Regions from separate parts of the Homo sapiens genome. Here region 1 is linked to region 2. The links are contacts of gene promoters, found by promoter capture Hi-C in human tissues and cell types (Jung and others, 2019). All regions are on one chromosome and are shown on one strand. Each heading gives the region's core, a stretch centred on a gene start or on the middle of the fragment in contact. The rest is flanking DNA. Distances are from core to core; before and after follow the strand shown. Region 1 overlaps ERC1 (ELKS/RAB6-interacting/CAST family member 1). Region 2 holds the start of FBXL14 (F-box and leucine rich repeat protein 14).

Evidence for each region. Contacts are between HindIII fragments. The study calls those that stand out against the background at their distance.
Region 1: a contact is called between a fragment that was not itself captured here and the fragment with the promoter of FBXL14 in region 2, in 1 of the 25 tissues and cell types used here (dorsolateral prefrontal cortex).

Annotation. Positions count from the first base shown.
Region 1 is chr12:1,075,358-1,080,389 of GRCh38, forward strand. All of the region lies in intron 2 of ERC1 (ELKS/RAB6-interacting/CAST family member 1), which reads left to right. Among named protein-coding and RNA genes, the nearest start is that of ERC1, 87 kb to the left of the region's middle. The HindIII fragment of the contact is 5,096 bases long and covers 1-3,827 here.
Region 2 is chr12:1,591,817-1,596,446 of GRCh38, forward strand. FBXL14 (F-box and leucine rich repeat protein 14) reads right to left here and starts at 2,765. Exons shown (of 2, transcript NM_152441.3): 1 at 1,057-2,765. The coding sequence starts at 2,250. RefSeq lists enhancers at 719-1,322, 1,840-2,029, 3,400-3,469 and silencers at 1,240-1,289, 2,270-3,139. The HindIII fragment of the contact is 15,118 bases long and covers 1-4,630 here.

The DNA.
Region 1 (5,032 bases), core at 30-2,529, 520 kb before region 2:
ATACTGCATTCTTTAAAGCAAGCTAGAGAAAAGAAAATGTTATTAAGAAAATTGTCTGGGTGTGGTGCCTCATGCCTGTAATCCCAGCTCTTTGGGAGGCCGAGGCTGGTGGATCACACGGTTAAGAGATCAAGACCATCCCGGCCAATATGGTGAAACCCCGTCTCTACTAAAAATACAAACATTAGCCAGGCGTGGTGGTGCTCACCTGTAATCCCTGCTACTCTGGAGGCAGAGGCAGGAGAATCGTTTGAACCTGGGAGGCGGAGGTTGCAGTGAGCTGAGATTGTGCCATTGCACTCCAGCCTGGGCAACAAAAGTGCACTCCATTGCACTCCATCTCTTGGAAACAGAGCAAGACTGTCTCGGGGGAAAAGAAAAAAAAAGAAAATCACAAGGAAGAGAAAATACACTTACTATTCATTAAGTAGAAGTGGACCATCACGAAGATCTTCATCCTCATCATTTTTGTTTTGAGTAGGCTGAGGAAGAGGAAGAAGAAAAGGGATTGGTATTGCTGTCTCAGATTTGGCAGAGGCAGAAGAAAATCCATGTGTCAGCAGACCCTCAAAGTTCAAACCTGTGTGGTACAAGGGTCAACTGTACTTTGTTTTCATAGAGATATATTAAAGTTTTATGAGTTTAGCTCATAGTGATCTTATAGGTTCTAAGCTTCATTTGAATATATTGCATGTAAAATAAATGCTTTATCTGTGTTCCTTTTGTCTTTCTTGAATATTGTTGTTAATTTAAAATTTGTAATAGGTTATAACTCTTATGTTTTACCCATTTGTGAGCTTTATTTTTGGATAAGAACTTTATCCTGTACTTTTGCTGTGCTTCGTATAGTACAACTATGAAAGATTCTTGTTGACTGTTGATTATCTGAAAATGCTTCTTTTTGCTTCAGGTCAAATATTGAATAAACCTAGAGCATATAATTAACATTTTTATTAGGACTGTGGTTTGTATTTTGGCCAGTTGGGATTTAAGAATTACTTGTATTGGTTGGTGTAGAACTGATTTTTTTTTTCTTTTTCTTTTTTTTTTTTTTGGAGATGGAGTCTCACTCTGTCGCCCAGGCTGGAGTGCAGTGGCAGGATCTCAGCTCACTGCAACCTCTGCCTCCCCGGTTCTAGCAATTCTCCTGCCTCAGCCCCCTGAGTAGCTGGGTTTACAGGCGCGCACCACCATGCCTGGCTAATTCCTGTATTTTTGGTAGAAACGGGGTTTCACCATGGTGGTCAGGCTGATCTTGAACTCCTGACCTTGTGATCCGCCTGCCTTGGCTTCCCAAAGTGCTGGGATTATAGGCATGAGTGATTTTTTTAGAATAAGAGTAATTGGCTGCATTATTTTTTTAAGGAAGAGGTATAACTTCCCAGATACTTGCAATGCGGCTAATATACAGTAGCCATTTACTTTCAACATAATTTCTCAACATTTAATTTTTGTCAGTTTTTCATAAAAAATTTATGACAGGGTAAAAAGATGACATTCCTAAGTCCTAGAAAGTTTATTGATGATAAATACAAAGAATTAAATTGCAGATCAGTCTTAGAAGTGCTATTCTGTGGATAAGCATACAGCCCTGGGCAGCACAGACGGGAACATCAGATAGCCCAACCAAACCGGAAGCTTGACTTGGTTGACTTAAGAATTCTTTAAAACTCTTTTGCGTGTTACATTAATAAAGTTTATTTAATACATGTATTTATATGTTTCAGAAAAAAATGTTCTTAATTTAACATTTGTAAAAGGGTACAATACTGGTGTTTTCTCTGACTCTGATCTTCTTGATAAACAGTGTACTGAGTTCTCTGTGATATATTTTGTTTGTAATCATGACCATTTCACGTGTCCATAATTTTTTTTCTCTAAAAATATCTCTAGACTACATAGTTCTGTTATTTTAGGAATGAGAATAAACGGGATCAAAGTGTACTCTTGTTCTAAGAAACTAATGACAGTTTATTTGTTGGAAGTTCTGCCTCAGAAGAGCTTCTGATATTTATCTAAAATATATGAATAGTAGTTGTGATCTGTCATTGTTTTTGCAGATATCTAATTGTTGTAATAAAAGTCATAGGCCCTGTCAGATAGTTAAGAATTTTCATTATTGTTGTTCACAATATCCTACCATTTCATTGAGATATAGCTTGGTGTAATAATAGTACAGTCCCTGGAGTAAATTTTAGACAAATACTTTCCCAGCCTTTCAAAATCAAGCTGAGTGTTAGAGTGAGAAGTAGACTAGTGAGTGTTGCTATAAAATTTGGAGTGTGAGATCATTTTGCAGTGTGTCGGGAACAGACTTCCCAAATAGACATTCTAGTATTATCTTACAACTCGATCTTTCCTTAAACTCAATGTATCTGTTTTTGGTTGATCATTATAGATGTCTGTGATGTGTGAATATGCCCATTTTATCTTCTGTATGAATATGCTGGAGAAAGAGTAGCCTTGCTTGTAGTCTGCTTTTTTCCTTCTTCTAAAGGAGTTGGCAGGAATTTTTATAAAATAAAGCTAGCCTGATTGTAGCCAAAAGAGGAAATGTTGGTTTATATTTTAGTGGAGAAAACTGCTGTATAGACTTCTAGGCTACCAAGTCAGAGCATTGTTTTATTTTTATACTATAGTAAAATGGGTGCAGGCGGAGCTGAAGAACCAGACACACTAGTAGTTAATGTTTTCTTTCTTTACCAAAATAGTAATTGCCATGCTACATTTAGCCATATGTGCCAAAGCGTATGTGAAACTGTTAACTGTAGCCAACATATATTTCTCCTGACTTGAATGAATTGATGACGAATGGTCAGAAAAGGAGGAACAGTCATACCTAGAAATCAGCTTCCCTGTTGAATTTCACTTCTGGTATTTCCCTTTGGGATATATTCACTCAGGAGTGTCAGGATTTTTTTTGACTTCCAAGGGAAAGAAACTAGGCTTCAGAGAATTAGCATTTTGATACATCTTTTTATTGAAGGTCTTTTGAACTCCAGCAACTGTTAATCTTTAAAAGATGATGCTGGTAGTGAAATGCATTTTAAAATTTATATTCATGAATTTAAATTCCTGATTTTTTTTTTTTTGGTGAGTTTATTCTTCGAAAGAAATAGCAGTGCTTTTCAAGTGTTTGAAGACTACCAGAATTGAAAGCTCACTGCTTGCTAAAAGCATAATACCCAAACCGGAAATGATAAAGGAAAATGTCATTGTCTTTGTATTAAAAAAGAAAATATCTATTAAAAGTCATCATAAACAATGTTAAAAGAAAAATGGCAGACTTGGAAAAATATTTGTAACATACACAGCAGGTGAAAGGTTATTTTCCTAATATGAAGAGCTCTTAAAATGGATTAAGAAAAAATGTTCAATAACAAAATGGGCAAAGAACAAGGAGAGAGGAGTCACAAAAGTTGATATACAAAGACACAGATAGAAATGATTTGTAATATGACAAAAGTCGATATACAAAGATACATATAGAAATGATTTGTAATATGACAAAAGTCGATATACAAAGATACAGATAGAAATGATTTGTAATATGATAAAAGTCGATATACAAAGATACAGATAGAAATGATTTGTAATATGACAAAAGTCAATATACAAAGATACAGATAGAAATGATTTGTAATATGACAAGTCGATATACAGAGATACAGATAGAAATGATTTGTAATATGACAAAAGTCGATATACAGAGATACATATAGAAATGATTTGTAATATGACAAAAGTCGATATACAGAGATACATATAGAAATGATTTGTAATATGACAAGTCGATATACAGAGATACAGATAGAAATGATTTGTAATATGACAAAAGTCGATATACAGAGATACAGATAGAAATGATTTGTAATAAGACAAAAGTCGATATACAGAGATACAGATAGAAATGATTTGTAATACGACAAGTCGATATACAGAGATACAGATAGAAATGATTTGTAATATGACAAAAGTCGATATACAGAGATACAGATAGAAATGATTTGTAATATGACAAAAGTCGATATACAGAGATACAGATAGAAATGATTTGTAATATGACAAAAGTCGATATACAGAGATACAGATAGAAATGATTTGTAATATGACAAAAGTCGATATACAGAGATACAGATAGAAATGATTTGTAATATGACAAAAGTCGATATACAGAGATACAGATAGAAATGATTTGTAATATGACAAAAGTCGATATACAGAGATACAGATAGAAATGATTTGTAATATGACAAAAGTCGATATACAGAGATACAGATAGAAATGATTTGTAATATGACAAAAGTCGATATACAGAGATACAGATAGAAATGATTTGTAATATGACAAAAGTCGATATACAGAGATATAGACAGAAATGATTTGTAATATGACAAAAGTCGATATACAGAGATACAGATAGAAATGATTTGTAATATGACAAAAGTCGATATACAGAGATACAGATAGAAATGATTTGTAATATGACAAAAGTCGATATACAGAGATACAGATAGAAATGATTTGTAATATGACAAAAGTTGATATACAAAGATACATATAGAAATGATTTGTAATATGTATCAGAATTACAATTGTACATACTTTGTGATCCAGCAATTCCATCTTTGAGAGTTCCCAAGAAAAATGTGGATTCATGTGTAAAGATACATATGTGAAGGTGCATCTTACAATAGTGAAAAATGAGAACTAACCTAAAATATCCGTAAGTGGAATTTTATGACCAACATCTTCTCTCCAACCAATTTTTTTATTATGGTAAAATATATATAACATAAAATTTACCATCTTAACCATTTCGAAGTGTACAGTTTAGTGGCATTCAGTATATCCCATCTATCTCCAGAACTCTTTTCATCTTGACAGACTGAAACTGTATACCCATTAAACAATAACTCCTCGTTCTGTCCCACTCCTATGTCCTGGCAACCACTGTTCTAGTTCCTTCTTTATCAATTCGACTGCTCTAGATACCTCATGTCAATGGATACATATAGTGTTTGTCTTTTTG
Region 2 (4,630 bases), core at 1,515-4,014:
ACTTGGAAGAGGGTGAGGGTAGGGCAGAATTTGCATATATAATCATCATTTTCAAGACACAATCTGCATCTCCAACAAAAACAACGGTTCAACTCTCATTGCTCCCACATATTTGTGCTATAAATTAAGATTTAGAAATAGGTCCTCAAATCCCAATGAACAAGGAGAAAAAGGAAATTATAGCCAGAATGTGGAAGTGGGGCACACTGGACGGATGGAGGCTGGGAAGAAGCCAACACAAAAAGACGGACAAACCCAAGGGCATCTTTCCAGTCTAGGCACAAACATGTTTCAGTCTCAAAATATCTCTCTTGTAGAATTCCAGGGCTTCAGAAAAAAAGTAAACTAAAACGAGGTAGCCAGACATATATATGTATATATATATATATATAATTTATATATATATAATATATAGAATATATTCAGCAGAAAAAAGGACCATGATTTCAAATTTTTTCCAAAAAAAAATTTTTAAACAGGAAAGAAGATTAAGAACATGAAATGAGCATGAATAGCAGAGTACTGTAAGAGGAGGAGTGATGAGAAGAGACTGGGATTAGTTACAAAGTGGAAGGGTGAAAAGGCCTTTGTAGCTGGGTTTGCTTTTTATACATTTCAAAATAAAAACCAGATCACAGTATTCAAATGAAAGCTGAAGTGAAAGCAGACATTTTCCTCAACTCCCCAGGGTTGAAAAGACCAGTCACTCCCCACCCCCATTTCCAGTCACAGCAGTGGGGATACAGTAGCTGAATCAGTCCTCCACCCCCTGCAGGGGAGTGGGTGGGTAAGCAGCAGAGTCCATCTCTCCATCCGCGGGGAAAAGGAGCTGGGAGTAGGGTAGGGTAGGAACCCCAGCTGCAAAGAGAATGGGCTGGAAGCCGGGAGGGGGCTGGAGGAGGGAGGAGGAAACGAGCCTGAGGCTTCTGTCATAGCCCCATCTCATCCGCTGCAATGATCTGTGCGTAAGTGTGCGTGTGAGTGTGTGGGGGCGGTGGTAATGGGAGGATGAACAGGGCGGGACAAGGGGAGCTGGTGCTGCCGCCCTCACCTGACCTTCTCACTGTCCGTCATCTGCCAGAGTCCCAGGTTGAGTACCTTGAGGCACGGCAGCTGCGTGATGCGCTCCAGGCCGCGCTTGGTGATTCGGGTGCAGCCGTACAGGTCTATGCCGGTGAGTTGGCTCAGGTGCTCAGCGATCAGCTCCAGGCCCTTGTCCGTGATGCGCACACACTGTCCAATGTTGAGCGTGCGCAGCCCGTGCATCTGCCGCACCATGCGGTTGATGCCATCATCACTGATGTGGCAGGAGCAGAGGGAGAGAGACTTGAGGCCATCCAGCCCCTGGGCTATGTAAGCCAGACTCTGGTCTCCCACCTTGTCACAGAACGAAACATCCAGCCCCGAGAGGCGCAGGCTGCCCATGGCCAGATGCATGATGCCCGTGTCACTGATGTTGTCACAGGAGCGCAGGTTGAGGCTGCGCAGGCTGCCCATGTGCGACAGGTGCAGGAGGCCAGCGTCCGAGATTCCCCCACAGAAGCTGAGGTTGAGGAGCCTCAGGCCCGTCAGCCCTCGGGAGATGTGCTTTAGAGAAAGATCTGTGAGCTTCTGGCAGTCCTGTAGCGTGAGCTGCTCCAGGCCCAGGCAGCCCTCCGCCGCGCTGCGCGTCATGCCGGCCAGGTGCCCGATGCCCACATCCGAAAGGTGGCGGCAGCTGCGGAGGTTAAGGCTCTTGAGGCGCTGCAGACCCCAGGCGATGAGCAGAAGGCCAGTGTTGGTGATGTTGCTGCAACCTCCCAGCTCCAGCACCTCCAGGCCCTTGAGGTACTGGGCTATGCGGCCCAGGCTGCTGTCAGTGATCTGCTTGCAGAGGCTCAGGTTGAGAGCGCGCAGGGAGCCGATCTCCTGCACAAACGCGTGGCCCAGCCCGTTGTCGGTGAGGTTGTAGCAGCCGCTGAGGTTGAGGCTCTCGATGTTGGCCATGCCCTGGATCACGTAGCTGAGGCTGCGGCGGAGGCTCAGGATCTGCACCCGGCGGATGCCCCGGGCCTGCAGGCTGGGGAACAGCGACGGGTTGGCCCGGCGCAGGTGCAGCTTGGCCTCCACCCCCCGCCACACCGACTTGTGGTAGGCGGCGTCCCGCCAGGCGGTGCACACCTGCGCCGCGCGCCCCTTGTCCCGGACGTCCAGGTAGCCGAAGATCATGGCCAGCAGCTCCGGGAACAGGCATGAGATGTGGGTCTCCATCTTCCTCCTCCCCCCTCCGCGGCGCTGGGGGGAGGAGGCGCGGGCCCCGCCGCTCCGGCCTCGGGCAGGCGACGAGAGCGCTTCTCCCCAGCCGCCGCCGCCGCCGCCGCCGCCGCCTCGGGCCCAACGGCCGGCCCCTCCCCGCCTTCCGGCTCCGGCCGCCGCCGCCGCTCCTCCTCCTGGTCCGTCCGTCCTTCCTTCCTGCCGGCTGCGCCTCCGGCCCGGCCCTCCCCCGCCCCGGGCTCCGCACGGCGCTCACATCCCGGGCGGGGAAGGCGCCTCGCTCTCGCTCCCGGAGGCCGGCCGCCGCCGCCGCCTCGGCTCTACCCACGCCGCGCCCGGGCCGCGCCGCTCCGCCCGCGCCGCCGCGCCCACGCCCCCTGCCGCATCCTCCGCCTCCTGCCGCCGCCGCTGCTCCGCGGGCCGGCGGGCGGCGAGGGGGCCCCGGGGGCCGGGCGCACGGGCTCCGGGCGCGGAGGAGGCTTCCTGCTGCCTTTGTCTCTCGCCCGCTTTTCAAACCTCCCAGCCCCGGGCCGCCCGCACTCCGCCGCCCAGGCGGGGGGACCAGGAGGCCAATCCCGGCCGGCGGCGTGCGTTCCTTCTCCCCCGCCGTCCGCGGCCACTTGGGAGCTGCCGGCCCCCGCACCAAGGACGCCGCGGCCGTCCGGCCGGAGCGCGGCTCGGCGCAGACCCCGGGCGAGCAGGCGGGCCGTGCGTTTGGTAGCGCCCGGGCCGGCCCCGGCTCCGCCGCCCTGCAGCGCGTCCCCTCCGCCGCTCCCGCTCCCCCGCGCCCGCGCAATGGTACGGGCCTGCGCTGCCGGAACTGTGGAGCCGTTGCCCTGGAAACCGAGTTCGGCCTGGTCCCGTGGCCCCTGATTTTTAACCCTGTGGGCGCCACGGGGGAGCGGCAGCTGTCAGCAGAGCGCCTCCCCACCCGGCTTCTTTTCACCCGGTAGCCCGTTATTGAGCCGTTCCCTCTCTGGGCCACGCCCCAGCCCCGTTCCTTCTTTTTCTTTGCTGTTGAAGTCTGCGCAGCCCCTTCCCACAGTTTACCCCTGCAATTCGTTACCCTTATTTCACACCCCTCTCCCTTGATTATCCCTGCGAGAGCCGCCTCCTATAGCAGTGCTCAATAATCGTCACCCCAACTCTCCTTTTCTTACTGTCCCTAATGCCCCTTAACGCCTCATTATCACACCCCCTGCTCCCCCGGTTGGGGCTGTTTACTACGACGCCTTTCTCTCCAGTCTTGTGTCTTAAATTGGAGAGAAACTCGGCTGTACTCATCTTAAACAATGACCCCCTCCAGTCGGTGTTCTAGAAATTTCTAGAATTATCCATGACTACTTCCTTCTAGCATCTTCTGATGGTTTCCAGACACGCTGTGTGTGTTTCCCTCGGTACTTGATACATCAAAACTTCCCTCTACTTCTGAACGCTGCTGCGCCACCAATGCCCTCAGTCCGCTTTGCTTACAGGGGAACAGCCTTCCCCTAAGCCTTGTTTTAGGAGCTTTCTCCTTGTCATCAGCCTTAGACTATCAGTTGTATGGCTCAGTTGTACTGATAGTCAATATATTCGTATATGCTGAATCCAATTTACTTTTTGATTAAAATGGAATGACAGTTGAACTTGGTTTAAGACAATCCAGTCGTGTCTGTTGGTTTATCAACCGTTTTATGGAAGCAGGGCACAATTCCATTCTAGGATGTAGCCCCTGGGTCCTAAATGTCCGTACTAAGGATAGAATTTCAGAAGTTTCATTTTAACTACCCCCAAACCAAGAATTTTTGGATCAGAGAAAATGATCCTCTGTATTTTAATTTATGGATCCACACAACTAGATACAAGACCAGCGGATTTATCAGAAAGGGAAAATGGTTTCATTGATTCTTTGAGGACCTGAACAAGATTTGGAAGGGGTTCCATATTCAGTGTAGGAGAGTAACTTTTGCCCAAGCAACCACTATTAGACCAAATACATACAGATTCAGTAATAGGCATAATACACCTTTTACACCCCTACCACTCCTCTTTCCTAAATCAGGAAATGCAGAAGCAAAAATTCTCGCCAGCTTGTTACCTCACCCACATTACACGCAGTGTGGAGCCCATAGATTTTTATAACCTTCTTGAAAAAATAGACTGTACTGTTAGTCATCCAGTACATCCAGATGTACGGTGGCAGTAAGTGTCACGATTCTGGGGTATGCCTGGGCTTCACTCTTCTCCTGGAGGTTATCTAGGCTTTTATTCTTCTCAGTCACTTCTGCCTAAACGTTTACCTTAAATTCTGCGCAAAAGTCACTTTTTGATTGTTCTGTGCACCTAGATGTGTTTGGGTTGATGTCAAGGCCTTAATCCAAAGCACCTTAGTGTA